Linked DNA regions of Homo sapiens: region 1 is linked to region 2. Evidence: promoter capture Hi-C in human tissues and cell types (Jung and others, 2019). All regions are on one chromosome and are shown on one strand. Each heading gives the region's core, a stretch centred on a gene start or on the middle of the fragment in contact. The rest is flanking DNA. Distances are from core to core; before and after follow the strand shown.

What was found. The method cuts DNA at HindIII sites, captures the fragments that hold promoters and counts their contacts. A contact is called where the count stands out against the background at its distance.
Region 1: a contact is called between a fragment that was not itself captured here and the fragment with the promoter of GJC3 in region 2, in 2 of the 25 tissues and cell types used here (lymphoblastoid cells and mesendoderm cells).

What each region holds. Positions count from the first base shown.
Region 1 is chr7:99,695,604-99,700,612 of GRCh38, reverse strand. CYP3A7-CYP3A51P (CYP3A7-CYP3A51P readthrough) reads left to right here. Exons shown (of 15, transcript NM_001256497.3): 14 at 4,767-4,867. It also overlaps a transcript of ZSCAN25 not described here and the pseudogene CYP3A51P. Among named protein-coding and RNA genes, the nearest start is that of CYP3A5, 18 kb to the right of the region's middle. The HindIII fragment of the contact is 7,451 bases long and covers 1-5,009 here.
Region 2 is chr7:99,928,078-99,932,930 of GRCh38, reverse strand. It overlaps GJC3 (gap junction protein gamma 3), which reads left to right and starts at 3,311. Exons shown (of 2, transcript NM_181538.3): 1 at 3,311-4,091. The coding sequence starts at 3,311. RefSeq lists enhancers at 2,928-3,512, 3,513-4,098. The HindIII fragment of the contact is 8,959 bases long and covers 769-4,853 here.

The DNA of each region.
Region 1 (5,009 bases), core at 1,102-3,601, 230 kb after region 2:
CTGTGTGAGGGGGATAGGAGGCACCCAGAGGAGGAAATGGTTACATCTGTGTGAGGAGGTTGGTAAGGAAAGACTTTAACAGAAGGGGTCTGTCTGGCTGGGCGTGCAAGGATGTGTAGGAGTCATCTAGGGGGCACAAGTACACTCCAGGCAGAGGGAATTGCATGGGTAAAGATCTGCAGTTGTGGCTTGTGGGGATGGATTTCAAGTATTCTGGAATGAAGACAGCCATGGAAACAAGGGCAGGTGAGAGGATATTTAAGAGGCTTCATGCCAATGGCTCCACTTCAGTTTCTGATAAGAACTCAGGTTCCGTGGACTCCCTGATAAAACTGATTAAGTTGTTTATGATTCCCCATAGAATATGAACTCAAAGGAGGTAAGCAAAGGGGTGTGTGCGATTCTTTGCTACTGGCTGCAGCTGCAGCCCCGCCTCCTTCTCCAGCACATAAACATTTCAGCAGCTTGACCTAAGACTGCTGTGCAGGGCAGGGATGCTCCAGGCAGACAGCCCAGCAAACAACAGCACACAGCTGAAAGTAAGACTCAGAGGAGACAGTTGAAGAAGGCAAGTGGCGATGGACCTCATCCCAAATTTGGCGGTGGAAACCTGGCTTCTCCTGGCTGTCAGCCTTGTGCTCCTCTATCTGTCAGTAACTGTCCAGATTCCTCTCCTCTGTTAACTTGGACTTGGGGTGCTACTCAGGCCCCTGTTCCCTCATCTGTTTTAAAGATCAAAAGAGATGTTCAAGGAGGAGTAGCTTCTTGGATGCTACAAACACATAGAGGTTATTATTGATCTTATGCAGATTTATGAAGAAATAAATAAGCATTTGTCCCAGCCACCTTCTAATTTTGGTGACTAGGAGGGTTTGGGGACAGCATTTGTTAGTGGGAATGATTTGATTAGCTTAGATTTGACCTATACTAATCAATGAAAATGAAAACCCAGCAAAGGCAGATTACAAACTGCTGAACAAGACGAGAAGTGTGATCCTCATCCCCTTCCCAGGTTCTCGGGATTCTGGGGGCAGGAGGGAGCAGCTTGGGTTTTTGTCTCATTACCTTCATTTTCTGGGTTCTCTGTCTGCTGGAAGAGATGTGTAGAAGTTTTTCCTCTGTGGACCTGGTGGTTCCTGCTCCCCTAACTTCCACCCCAGGATATCATTTACATAACACACCGGGGAACACCAAGACTTCACGGGAAGCTGTCCCCCGGCTCTTCCCTCTTTCCTGTGCCATGTCCCAAAACATCCCCTCCCTCCTATGACTCACTCCTCCACCCTGTCATACACAGAACTATTTACCTTGCAATGATTAATCTCCAGAGCAAAGGAGACTTGGAGGAAGTTTTGAAGATTTATTCTTTGCTTTAATCTTTTTCCTCCCGTCTCTGGGAGGCTAGCATTAATATAGAGCTTTGTTTCTCAGCTAATGGGAATCTGCTAGCAGCCTGAAAAGGCAGGAGCTGTGAAAGCCAATTTGGATTTTACACATTTTTTCCCCTTTGTGTTACAGTAAAGGAGGATGAACCCTCTCACTGGTGGGATTCCTGGCATCCTAGAGCAGGTGGAGAGAAGAGTTACTTTCCACTGTGGTTAGTGGAGGCTCCACCTGTCCCATTAACTTCTACCTCAATTTGACTTTTAAGAGCAGGCAACAACAATGACATGAAAATAGGAAATATAAACTTCATTTTAATTTTTTCACAGAAAGCTTAGGAATTCAGTGAGTTGTGGCAACATGGTTTCCATTGTCTAACATTTTAAAATGAATTGATATGGTTTAAATTCATTCATTTTTAAATCAGAATTTTTTGGAGATGGAATATTTCCAGCATGTTCCTTCTGGATGATGAAAGAGGGCTGTTAGTTCAGTATTTGTGACAATAAATGTGTGTAAAATAACATCACCTCTCCAGAATAATGTCAGGAATATGAGTCTAAAGCATGAATGTATATCGCTAAGACAAGACTGCGATATACATATTTATGTATATCTTTTTATATTTAAAAAGATATGTCTTTTTAAATATACATGCCTGACAGTTTATTTTAATACCTCCTTTTTGAATATACCTGCTTAGCAGGTTATCTTAAACTGTCAGGCAGGGGAGTAAGCAATACTGTGAGCTAGTGATGATAGCAAAGGCATCCACGTAGGATCCGTATGAAGTAAGAAAATATTCCTCAGCTCTCAGGGTAGAACTCCAAAGAGATATTCATGGGTCCTGGCCCCACAGTGGAGGTCACTCAAAAGGCAAACAGGTTGGCATCTCATCTGCTTCAAGCCTGGACACAGGGACATCAAATGTGTCACTGTGTGCGTGGTCTGCCATGTTGTGGGGCGGTCACTACAGACTCGGGCAGCCAGGCAGACAATGCCTTAGCCTTAGACAATGCTGGTGCAGCCCAGGAGTCAGAAACTGTAGTGTAGACCATGCCCTCCTTAGGCCAACACAATTACGTGCAATAGATGACTGGCTTTTCTGTTAGCCTCTTCATTGGAACCAAAAGTGGTATTACTCTACCAGAGGGGAGCTAGAAAGAAACTAAACAGTTTGCCCAGCACAGCCTCTGCCTTGACATGGAACCATGTGAGTCTAGACACTCACCTAGATCTTTCCTTGGGGGACAGTGCTGCTGACAGATTAACTCAATAGTTTGTCCTGACCTGAGAGATCACGTAACTTCTAGAAAGTGTAGAAGCAGAGATTAGTGTCATTGATTTGCCATAGCTGTGACAATAAAAGAAGGAACAGGAGTAGAAAACCCAAGGCCACCCTGGTTTCAGTAGATGGTGCACACATTTCCACTAACTATTCTGGGGCAAGGATCCAAATGCACTATATGCTGCCTCTGCTGGGATCTCCAAACACGACCCTCCATGCCATTTCTCAGTTGTATTTTACCACATATTATCAGAGTCACTGGATTTGTACAGAATGTTTGGAACCTATACTGCCTTAAGTGCTACCCATTATAGAAGAGAAAACAAGGTCTTCATTCAACTGTCTGGAACATTTTATGTTTACTTATGTGGAATACTGTACCTTTTGCTATCAACAGGAAGGTACCTGGACATTAGAAGGTGCCTGTCTTTCAGCTGAAAGCACACATGACGCATATGGATCCATTTATATACACCATACTTTTCAGCCACATTTTCCTAATTTGCCTCTCTGGGACCAACCTTGTGGGACTAGCAGATTCACGGTTGAGTTGATGGCTGGTGATGTCTGCCATCAGCCTTTCTTCTTCCTCCAGTCTTCCACCCCTCAGTAACATCAGACTGGGAAGGTCTTCAGATATCCAGAACCCTCAGTTGGGGGAGTCCATACATGACCCATCAAAGATGAGTTGCAAGCAGGCCTGCCATAGGGAGCAGCAGCCTTAATGGGTTTTCCTACAGAGATACTTGATGTGCAGAGGCAATAAACTGACTGCTTTGTGATTGATCACCTTGAAAAAAGTGAGCATATCTGGGTGTATTAGTCCTTTCCTACATCGCTGTAAAGAAATACCTGAGGCTGGGTAATTTATAAATAAAAGAGATTTAATTGGCTCATGGTTCTACAGGCCCTACAGGAAGCATAGCGACTTCTGCCTCTAGGGAGCCCTCAGGAAATGTTCAATCATGGCAGAGGGTGAAGGAGAAGTAGGCAGATATTACATGGCTGGAGCAGAAGCAAGAGAGGGTGGGGAGGAGGTGCCACACACTTATAAGCCACCACATCTCATAAAAACTCATTGTCACGAGGAAACACCCAAAGGGGGTTGGTGTGAAACCAGGAGAAACTGCCCCTAAGATACAATCGCCTTCCATCAGGCCCCACCACCAGCATTGGGGATTACATTTCCACATGAGATTTGCGTAGGGGCAGATTCAGACCATATCACTGGCAGTGTGCTTATTATCAGGTGAATACCACCAGTTGGAAGGCTAGATTCCACAAGAGGAGGAATGTCCTGGAAATTGGTTTTTTAAGTTGTGGATCTTCTGCACACTGTCATTCAGGGAAATATGAGTTAATCATCCTCCCCAATAGCGCAAATCAACCAGATCATCTGGCCACAGAGACTGAGGTGTAGCTGAAAGGTGCTTGCATTTCTACGAGGCCAATGGAAGCCTTCAGCACAGTTGTCAATCTGTAGAAATAAGGACTCTGTGACTCCTCTGACACCCCTCTATGAATGACAGTTTAAGAAGGGCCAGATCCTAAAATAGGGTCAGAGCTTAGAGGGAAAGGAAAGTATAAAAGACTCTTCACAAATTCTAAAGACATGGTCACCATAGGCTCTCAGTGACCCTCTGTGACTGAGTGGATGCAGTGATGCAAAATCTCATCATCACTGCAGAAGAGAAAAAAAAAAAAAGTCACCCTTTCTGCCTAGGATGAGAATCCCCAAATCAGGGAAGAGTCCACTTACTAAATAGACATAAGGAAATGAAGTGCCCTGGAAGAATTCCTTCCTGAACCTCTGAGGAGCACTCACGTTTGAGGACATTTATCAAGTATTCATTCCAGGATTGGGACCATAAAGACTTCTGCTGCTTTCGACTAATCATTGTGACTTTTTGGTGTCTCATGGTGGAGACGGGAAAGGACTTGATGTACAAATATAATCATTGCTGTCAGAGTTACTGTTATCATTTATTGCCTTAATGTTACCTCCTTCTCTTGAGCATTCCAGTTCCTCAGTCAGTGACTTACCAGCCCCCATATCTATAAAGTCACAATCCCTGAGACCTGATTTCTGATTCAGTTTGTAGATATGGAGCCCATTCACATGGACTTTTTAAGAAGCTTGGCATTCCAGGGCCCACACCTCTGCTTTTTTTGGGAACTACTTTGTCCTACCATCAGGTGAGTGTTTTTGAGCTCACTCTTTGGCTTCTTATGATTGGAGAGAGCAGCTTAGTTCCATCAGTAAAACTGCTTCTCCTCAGGAGGAAGGTCTGAGGTTTTACACTTTCAGAAACAGTGTATAGGCATCATCCAGAGCATG
Region 2 (4,853 bases), core at 2,062-4,561:
TGCTGGACCTGCACTTCGAAATAAAACAAGGCTGACAGCAAGACTTGAGAATTTACCTAATGATCATCTAGTCTGATAACTCTCAAGAGAGGAAGGACAGAAACCCTCAGAGCCCTGGGGATGCTTCCCATAAATCCAGGGACACCCCCCCTAGACTTACAAGATGGGGCAGGGCTGCAGGTATCCTCACAGATGGGGCTGGTTGAGGGAGGATGCGTGACCAACCTAGATGAACTCAAACTCTGACTCTTAATGGCTCAAAATATAGTGTCTTGCAGTTGGTGAATGATGACATATTTCTCTGGTCAATTGAGACCCTTAGAATTGTCCCTGGGACTCATCTCAACCCATCCTTCTGACTGAGACCACAGGGGAAGTCCAAATTACAGGGAAGATAATTTGGGGAACAAATCCTTGAAGAAGCAGGAAAGATGAGACCCAAGGACACAGATTTGGAAGGCAGAGTAAACTTGGATAACTGTAGGTCCACTTCTTTCTCTACAATGTTAGAAAAGGAAGTAAATATTAAGATAAGAGAAAGTAGTATCTGTGGGGTTTCACATCAGTGTCTCTATTTTCTCTTTGGAGTAAGAGGTTTTCGTGGTGTCTTAGTCTGTTTGGGCTACTATAACAAAATACCTTAGAGAGGGTAATTCATAAATAAGAGATATTTATTTCTCAAAGTTCTGGAGGCTGAGAAGTCCACGATCCAGGCACCAGCAGATTCAGTGTCTGGCAAGGGCTTGTTCCTCTTAGATGGCACCTCTTGTGTATCCTCACACAGTGGGAAGGGATGGAGGGGCTCCCTGGAGCATCTTTTATAAGAGCACTAATCTCATTCATGAAGGTTCTTTCCTCAAGGCTTAATCACCTCTGGTTTGATACAGTTTGTTTGTTCCCACCAAATCTCATGTTGTAATTTAATCCCTATAGTTTGATGGTGTTGGGAGGTGGGGTCTAGGGGGAGGTGTTTGGGTCCTGGGGGCAGATTCCTCATGAATAACTTGGTGCCATTCTTGTGGCAGTGAGTGGGTTATCGCTTCTGTGAAACTGGATTCATTCTTGAGGGAATGGATTAGTTCCCTCAAGAGTGGGTTGTTGTAAAGCCAGGATGCCCCTTGGGTTTGGTCCCTCTTCCCCTTTGACCTTCCCTGCCATGTTTTGACACAGTATGGAAACCCTCAACAGAAGCTAAGCAGATGTGCAGGCTGCAGAGCTGTGAGTCAAATAAACCTCTTTATAAATCACCCAGCCTCAGGTTCTCCTTTGTGGCAACACAAAATGGACTAAGACACTTGGTAAGGGCTCCACCTCTTAGTACTATCACACTGAGTACAGCACTTCCACCTTTCCACCTCTTAATACTATCACATTGAGTACAGCACTTCCACCTTATCTGTGGGAGATATGTTCCAAGACCTCCAGTGGATGCCTGAAATTGTGGATAGTACCAAACTCCATATATACTATGTTTTTTTTCCCCATATGTACATCCCTATGATAAAGTTTAATTACAAATTAGCACAGTAAGAGATTAACAACAATAACTACTAAGAAAATAGAACAATTGTGGCTGGGCATGGTGGCTCATGCCTGTAATCCCAGCACTTTGGGAGGCCGAGGCAGGTGGATCACAAGGTCAGGAGACTGAGACCATCCCGGCCAACATAGTGACCCTGTTTCTACTAAAATACAAAAAATTAGCCCGGCGTGGTGGTGCGCCCCTATAGTCCCAGCTACTCAGCAGGCTGAGGCAGGGGAATTGCTTGAACCTGGGAGGCAGAGATTGCAGCGAGCCAAGATCGTGCCAGTGCACTCCAGCCTGGTGACAGAGCGAGAGTCCGTCTCAAAAAAAAAAAAAAAAAAAAAGAAATAGAACAACTGGAACAATTGTAACAATATGCTGGCATCACTACTCTTGCTTTTTGGGGCTATTCTTAAGTAAAATAAGAGTTACTTGAACGAGTATTGATAGTTGATCTGATAACCAAAATGGCGATTAAGTCACAAACCAGCAAGGAGCGTCTACAGCGTTGGATACCCTGGACAAAGGGATGATTCACATCCTGGGTGGGATGGTGTGAGATTTCATAGTGCTACTCAGAACAGCACACAATTTAAAACATTAATTTTGTATTTCTGGAATTTTCCATTTAATATTTTTGGACCTCTGTTGACTGTGGGTAACTGAAACTGTAGAAAGTGAAATCGCAGATAAGAGGGGGGACTACTGTATTAGGTTCTAGCATATGCATCTTGATCATCATTCAGACCATACCACATGGTCTTCTGAGTGTGAGGGTAACCAGATGAGTGAGAATTTAGGCTAAATGGGGACGGTTTGAAACAGCTGCTGGGCATTGGGGAAGGCAGCTGATTAGGACAAATATAGAGATGGTGAACTTGGGCTTGTAGCATTGTGGTATTTTGGCTGGGGAACAGAGGGATTTCTGAAACTTATCCTTGATCATGGTCGCCTGTCACCATGAGGGAGATAATATGCCCAAGGAACAATGGCAAGTGGGGGTCAAAAATCTGAATTTCTATCTAGTCAGTTCTGGCTCTGGCCCCAAATCCTATAGTATGTAATTCTGGTAAATTCTGCTGGGTTACCTTCCAAATGTTCTCTTCTTCCTCAGCTTGTAAGGCCTAAGAGCATCAGACTAAAGCAAGCCTCGATGCTTGCTCTGTTCATTTCATCCATCACATCTAGCCCCATAACCTAACTACCTCTCAACTTTACCACTGTGATGGGAGAAGAGGACATCCAGACACACCTGTGATCATCCAAGGGCATGGAGGAAGAGAAAAGAAGACCGCAAGAGAATGCACATTCCCTCTCAGCATCAGCACTAATTTGCTTAAGATGATGCTGTAGGAGCACCAGGCCTGGCAGCCATCAGCTGGGGAAGCAATACCTTTCAAAGGAAAATTAACAAAACATCCCAGTCTACTCTCTTACGTTCAGCCTTTGGGAAAGAGAGACGGAGGGAAGGAGGGAAAGAGAGAGATGAAGATGTATCCTGGTCTCTCCAACCTGAGAGTTCCTCTCCACTCCAGCAGTACAGAAGGGGAGGGCAGAAGAGAGAGCCACACCACACACACTCACTGTTATTATTTTACATAGATGATTTCATTAAGTAGTAAAGAGGTGCAATCAGAGTCTTGGTATTTAATCAGTCAGATACTTGGAGAGGAATAAAAAAGCTTGCCTTCAGTGATCCTTGGATTAGGAGTGACAAGGTGGACTGGAGCTCCCTCTGAAGGACAGTGAACAACACTGATCTCTTGTCCTCTGCTCCAAAACAGGATGTGTGGCAGGTTCCTGCGGCGGCTGCTGGCGGAGGAGAGCCGGCGCTCCACCCCCGTGGGGCGCCTCTTGCTTCCCGTGCTCCTGGGATTCCGCCTTGTGCTGCTGGCTGCCAGTGGGCCTGGAGTCTATGGTGATGAGCAGAGTGAATTCGTGTGTCACACCCAGCAGCCGGGCTGCAAGGCTGCCTGCTTCGATGCCTTCCACCCCCTCTCCCCGCTGCGTTTCTGGGTCTTCCAGGTCATCTTGGTGGCTGTACCCAGCGCCCTCTATATGGGTTTCACTCTGTATCACGTGATCTGGCACTGGGAATTATCAGGAAAGGGGAAGGAGGAGGAGACCCTGATCCAGGGACGGGAGGGCAACACAGATGTCCCAGGGGCTGGAAGCCTCAGGCTGCTCTGGGCTTATGTGGCTCAGCTGGGGGCTCGGCTTGTCCTGGAGGGGGCAGCCCTGGGGTTGCAGTACCACCTGTATGGGTTCCAGATGCCCAGCTCCTTTGCATGTCGCCGAGAACCTTGCCTTGGTAGTATAACCTGCAATCTGTCCCGCCCCTCTGAGAAGACCATTTTCCTAAAGACCATGTTTGGAGTCAGCGGTTTCTGTCTCTTGTTTACTTTTTTGGAGCTTGTGCTTCTGGGTTTGGGGAGATGGTGGAGGACCTGGAAGCACAAATCTTCCTCTTCTAAATACTTCCTAACTTCAGAGAGCACCAGAAGACACAAGAAAGCAACCGATAGCCTCCCAGTGGTGGAAACCAAAGAGCAATTTCAAGAAGCAGGTGAGAAGGACACGCTCTCTTCCTGTCACTGATGTTTGTGTCCTGATGATCTCCTCCCGGGGCAGGTCCCTCACCTTTCTGGGAAGTACAACTTCTGCATGTTACAAAGTAGGTAACCAGGTTCTAGGCAGATGTGTTCTGACCGCCACTCCCAACCCTTTTCTTTGTTCTCTCTTGCTCTCAAAATCTATCCCAATGTCCATCCCCATCAACTTGATGGTTCCTTCCAGCGAACAAGGACAAGAGTGCTAGTCCGTTGTCCCTCCTGAACTTCCATTTAGGTCTCTCTCCACTTAGGAAAAATCTCAGCTTCTTCTTGATTCTCTACTTTGCAGAGTTATAAAGACACCTGACTTGCCTGAAGGAAACTCTGTGATTGAATCTTCTTTCCAACATCCAGTGAGTGGGGATTCATGTCTGTGACAAATTAGAGGCTGTTGAAGGATCTCTAAGGGCCCCTTGGGCCATGTAGTCTAAAGCATTTCCTGACTGTGCCTTTTCACTGGAATTTTCTGGTGTCAGCATCACAATTTTTATGGGCTTGGTTCAAGAGTCAGCCGGGAGAAGCCTCCCTAAACTGTGTCTCTCCCCTGTCCTGCTCAATAAATATTGATGACTGCTGTTGGCATTCCTGTTGCTGAAGATAATGCCCCTTCCTGTCTCACTGGCTTCATTTACCTCTTTTCTGTTTTTCCACATTCTCTGCTCCCCTTATCATCAAAGTTTTGTAAATGAATGCCCCTCAGACCTGCAGCACATGTC